2 separate regions of the Homo sapiens genome follow, and region 1 is linked to region 2. The links are contacts of gene promoters, found by promoter capture Hi-C in blood cells and fetal thymus (Javierre and others, 2016). All regions are on one chromosome and are shown on one strand. Each heading gives the region's core, a stretch centred on a gene start or on the middle of the fragment in contact. The rest is flanking DNA. Distances are from core to core; before and after follow the strand shown. Region 1 has its middle 120 kb from the start of GNAI1. Region 2 holds the start of MAGI2 (membrane associated guanylate kinase, WW and PDZ domain containing 2).

The links. Contacts are between HindIII fragments. The CHiCAGO score rates a contact against its expected background, and 5 or more counts as called.
Region 1: a fragment that was not itself captured here is called in contact with the fragment with the promoter of MAGI2 in region 2 in 1 of 17 cell types (megakaryocytes); the score reaches 6.8 in megakaryocytes.

What each region holds. Positions count from the first base shown.
Region 1 is chr7:80,013,596-80,016,295 of GRCh38, forward strand. No RefSeq gene overlaps it. Among named protein-coding and RNA genes, the nearest start is that of GNAI1, 120 kb to the right of the region's middle. The HindIII fragment of the contact is 607 bases long and covers 1,105-1,711 here.
Region 2 is chr7:79,452,230-79,454,929 of GRCh38, forward strand. MAGI2 (membrane associated guanylate kinase, WW and PDZ domain containing 2) reads right to left here and starts at 1,438. Exons shown (of 22, transcript NM_012301.4): 1 at 791-1,438. The coding sequence starts at 1,091. MAGI2-AS3 (MAGI2 antisense RNA 3) reads left to right here and starts at 728. Exons shown (of 4, transcript NR_038346.1): 1 at 728-962; 2 at 1,358-1,426. RefSeq lists an enhancer at 1-178. The HindIII fragment of the contact is 2,254 bases long and covers 1,079-2,700 here.

The DNA of each region.
Region 1 (2,700 bases), core at 158-2,657, 560 kb after region 2:
CTTTTGCTTCTTTTGTTTTCCATTTGTATAGAATATCTGTCCATTCTTTCGATTTCAGTTTGTGTCCTTAGAGGTGAACTGAGCTCCTTGTAGGCAGCATATAGTTGGGTCTTTCTATTTTTATCAGTTCAGCCACTTGATGTCTTTTGATTACAAAATTTAATCAATTTACATTCAGATGAATTATTTAGGTAAAGACTTATTGTTTCCATTGTGTTAACTGTTTTCTAATTAATTTGTAGATTATTTGTTCTTCTCTTCTTCTTTTGCTGTCTTTCTTTCTGGTTTGATGATTTTCCATAGTGGTGTGCCTTGAATCCTCTCTTTTTATCTTCTATGTACCTACTAAGAGTTTTTACTTTGTGCTTACATGAAACACATAAAATATATTACACTATTAACAGACTATTTTAAGCTGATAACAACTTTACTTTTATTTGCACAAACTCTACACCTTTACTTCCCCCAACATACAATTTGTTTTTGTATCTTTTAAAGTCTGTGTTTCTTAACAAATTATTTGTTTGATTATGTGGTTACTTTTACCAGTGAGTTTTATATTTTCGTATTGCTACTAAGTGGCATTTTCCTTCAGTTTCCAGAACTCTTTTTAGCATTTTTTGTAAGGCAGGTCTAGCAGTGATAAATTTCCTCAGCTTTTGTTTGTCTGAGGAAGTGTTTATTCTTCACTTTTGAAGAGCAAGATTGCTGAGTGTAGTGTTCTTGGTTAACAGGTTTCTTTTTCTTTCAGCTTTTGAAACATATCATTGAATTCCTTCTGGCCTACTAGGTTTCTGTTGAAAAATGTTGATAGTCTCTTGGAGAGTTCTCCATGTACATAACAATACACTTTTCCCTTGCAGGTTTCAATATTCTCTATTTTTCCTTAATTTTTGAAAATTTGATTTCTGGTGAGATCCATCCACTTGATCAAAACATGGTGGAGAAAGCTAAAGGAGAAGCAGACATGTGCAAAGCGGCAAAACCTAATGGGCATCCTGCTTTGTAACAACTCACTTTTGCAGTAACAAATCCATTTCTGCGGAAGCTCATCTAGTCTTATGAGAGCAAGAACTGACTCACTGCCAGGGAAAATGAAACTAAAGCTTTTATAAGGGATCAGCCCACAAGACTCAAAGACCTCCCACTAGGTACCACCTCCTAATGCTCTCACATTGAGGATCAAATTTCAACATGAGTTTTAGTGAGAACAAAGTATATCCAAATCACAGCATGCTATAAATATTTTTAAATATTTTATCTCATTGGAGTTTTTAGGGAAAAACCAGAAGGAAATAAACATTACCAAAATGTACTTTACTCATACTATTTCGTTTGTTTCATATTTACTTTCAAATTTCAGTAGTTAAAAACTTTTTACTGGCAAAAGTACCACATAACAAAAAGCAAAGTTATTACACTGCACTAGTTGTTATTTACGTTTAGTAAGAGATAGCTCAGGTGAATAAGGTTCTGCTAAAATAGTGAGGAGACTTTAAGATAATTCAAAACTATTCATGTTATTGGTTGTGCTCTCTAAGCAAAGCAAATAAATCTCATTCTAAACTTAGAAAAGCAATATTACAATTCCCTTTATCTTTTTGCCTTTTCCCTATCAAATTTCAGCATTACAGTTCTCATAAATACTTCTGAAGTCTTTCTTTTATTTACTGTGTTTAACACAGGAAAAGAGAATTTAAAATCACTAATAAGCTTTTCTGTGTGTTCCTAAGTAATTTTTAATCTCTTTGGTATTTTCTTTCATTTGATGATTTAAACTAACCTATTGATAAAGGCTACCATTTGTAGTATGTGTTTATGTGTATAAGAATATTATGAACCTTTAAAATTTTTCTATTTCTAATCATCAAACATATAATAACTCTTTTTTTTCTTTTTTGAGACGGAGTCTTGCTCTGTCACCCAGGCTGGAGTGCACTGGCGCGACCTATGCTTACTGTAACCTCTACCTTCTGGGTTCAAGCAATTCTCCCTGCCTCAGCCTCCTGAGTAGCTGAGATTTCAAGCACCCGCCACCATCCTCAGCTAAGTTTTGTATTTTTAGTAGAGATGGGGTTTCGCCATGTTGGCCAGGCTGGTCTCAAACTCTTGGCCTTAGGTGATTTGCCACCTTGGCCTCCCGAAGTGCTGGAATAACAGGTGTGAGCCACCATGCCTGGCCATAATAAGTTTTGCCCAGGGTTTAACTTCAATATAAAACCCGTTTCCTTACCAAATTGTTTTCAGAAATAGATTCAAGATAATAATACACCTTCATGAGCAACGTTTAATTTAAGACTAAGACTGATTTGGGGGGCAGCATTGAATTGTTGATAAGGGAAAGTGGTGATGGAATTGGAAGAGCAGCATGGGAGATTTGTTGGGAAGGGCCTTTTTTTGGCTTACCCAGAATATGCCAGAATGACAGTTTCTACGACCATTGAAAAGAGAATATTGAAACCAACCAAGAAACTCTGAAGATCTCAATGCTTATATTACAATGTCAGCCCTGACACTCACTGACATATTGTTAGCATTCAGGATATCTAGCAAAGATGTGCTAACTTTTCATCCCAGTCTATTCTAAGGATCCGTAAGTAGCTAGTAAATATAATGCTTTAAGAGCATTTTTCCCAAGGAATATCCCACAGTATCTTCATAAATATTCACTTGGTATTCCTTCAAAATTAGTTTCTCAGC
Region 2 (2,700 bases), core at 188-2,687:
CGACAACCATTCATCTCCTCCGACCCCCGCCCAGCACTAGACTGCGCTCCTAGCACCGCGCCTTCTTCCGGAGCCTCCTCCCCCGGGCTGGCTAGGGGTGAGCGCAGGGGTTAGTCAGTACGCACGTGACGCGCGATGCCCACATGACACGACCGTGAGCGGGGGAGGGGGACACGGAGTGAAGAAGGGGAAAAGTTACAGAAGACCCGTCAAAGCGCCCAAAGCAATTTGTCCCTTCTTTTCTTCGCCAGCGGTGGCTCACGGATCCCTAAGGGACAGCTGGGGACCCAGGCGCCCCCAGCCCAGCCCCAGAAACGCTGGACGCAGTTCTCCGCTCACCCCACCACCTTCTCTTCCCAGACCCGCTGGTGATGCCGCTGCACCCTGAAGTTGCTCCTTCCTTCTTTCCCTCCCTTCCTCCCATTCTTTCTTTCTTTTCTTCCTTCCTCCCTTCCCCAAAAGCTCTTCATCCGCTTCGGGTGATGCCACTGACGCACATTCAATTTGCCCCAGCAGCTCTGAGGAGGTCAGACCAGGCCGAGCACCTTCCAAAGGGGAGGGTCTAACTGAGCAAACAAAGTTGCACGCCACACCACAACCTGCCCCTCCCCTCCCTTTAGCCCCCAAGTCGAATCCCCGGCGAAACTCACTTGCACTGCGGGTGCTCTCTGGCCCCCACCCCATCATCGCGCAACACACCCCCTTCAACATGCGCGGCCACCCTTTCATTGCCCTGCGCCCCGAGCGGTCCCACCGCCCGGCAAAACACTGAGCAAGCCGCTGCTCTCACCTTGCTTGACACACTTGAGCCGGAGGGGGTCCTTGCAGTGTTTGATCACGGCCAGCACGTCCCTGATGGTGAGCCCCGCCACGGGGGTCTCGTTCACCTCCAGCAGCAGCTCCTCCGACACCAATTTGCTGCCGCTCTCATAGGCCACCTTGCCGGGCTTCACCTCCCCCAGGTAGGGGAACTGTCCATTCTCGGCGCCCCCCTTCAGTTCAAAGCCCAGCTGGCCCTCCGGGTTCCTGCCAATGACACTCTCATGGACTTTGCTAGTCCAGTGGCTTTTCTTTTTCAAGCTTTTGGACATGGCAGTGGGGCGAGTCGCCTCAGTTCCTGGGCTCCTTGGGGTTAGGGGGGCTGGTGGTGAGAGAATGAGGATGGAGGAGCAAGGGGGCCCAGGGGGAAGAACAGCAGACTTTGCCTTCGCCCCCCTCTATTCGGTGCTTTCCCTCTTCTTTGGATGGAGTGTGGACGAGGAATGGGGAGGATGAGAGGGACGGCTGGGCAGAGGTAGGAGAGCTTGGATGAGGTTGTGCTGTCCCTTGAATGACACTCAAGGCTGTGGCCCCGCAGCAGAGGAAGCAGTGGTGGTGGCGTCGGCGGCGGCGGCGGCGGCAGCCGGAGCGAGCAGTAGCCGAGCTGGTGAGCGGGTGTGGTGGGGGTGGGGAAGGAGGGTAGGGATGCCGGGGGCCACTCCTGCGTGGTGCGAGTGGGAACGCGCGCGCGCGCCTGGGTGTGTGTTGTTAGCTGATATCCATGGCAGCTGCAGTGGCAGGGTGCGTGTGCGTGTGTGTGTGTGTGTGTGTGTGTACTAGTTCTACTGTACTGGCAGACGGGAGGAGGCAGGGGAGGAGGGGCGCGCGCGCCGGGTGGGGAGCCACGGAGGGCTTCGCCGCTGCCTCCCTCCCTCCCTCCGCAGCTTGACCCGGTAGTGAAGGCAGAGAGAGAGGCAGGCTGGGTCCGCCTGGCAGCCTACGGGAGGAGGCGGGAGCCGGGAAGGAGGGGAGCCTAGGCCCGGCGTGGGGAGGCCGGCAGGAAGGGCCTCGAGCCCAGTGCGGACCTTTCTTCAGCCTCTGTGCGACCGAGCCGCGCGCCAGGCTCCTGTGCGAGGAGGACGCGCTGACTCCCTCCGACCTGGGCTCCGATGGAGCAGAAATAGCGGGACCTGGACTTGTGGCGCGCCTGGTGCCACATCTCGGGCTCTGCGAGCGTCCTGGCGCGGGATCCTGCCGTGAGAAGGAGTTGGGGCGGGGGACCCGGCGGGGCATTGCGGGAGAAGGCCTGGGATCCCTGGGAGCCTTGTAGCGTGGGGGAGTTCACTGTGTAGAGAGGTTTCATGTCTTCATCTATATAGTCACTTATTTGTCTTAAAGTTCTCGAAATTCCCTCTTAGAGAAGGAGAAAGTTAGAGAACTGGAGGCTGCGTACCCTGATTACGCAGAAGGGAAGCAGCCTCGCATTCCCCGGGGCAGGCCCCCGCCCGCGCGTCCCGCCAGTAGGGGAATTTAGCGGACGGCTGCGGTTGTCTGGTGAAAGGCTATCCAAGGATAAGGGGCTTCACTTTTCCCAAGTAGGGGAAAGAGAAGGGGTCTACAGGGCTAGGGGTGGAGGGAGCGGATGCAGTGAGCAGCCTCCGCAGAGAAATTGACAATTTAACCAGGGACCTGCGGCAGAGACAAGGCGGAGACACTCCCTTGCCCAGGAAAGCCGCCAGAGTCCGGCTTGTACCTGGGGAAGAATCCTTAAGACGGTCTGGCCCAACACTCCTTTGCTCACAGAGAAAGGGGAGAAGACTCCCGAGGGTGAAAATGGTACATTCGGAGCTGGAACTCAGCTCGCTGACCCCAAGCAGTGTTCCCTTCTTTTCGCCAGGTTTGCATCCAAGAGAGGGGAGGACAGGGGCAAAAGGATGCAGG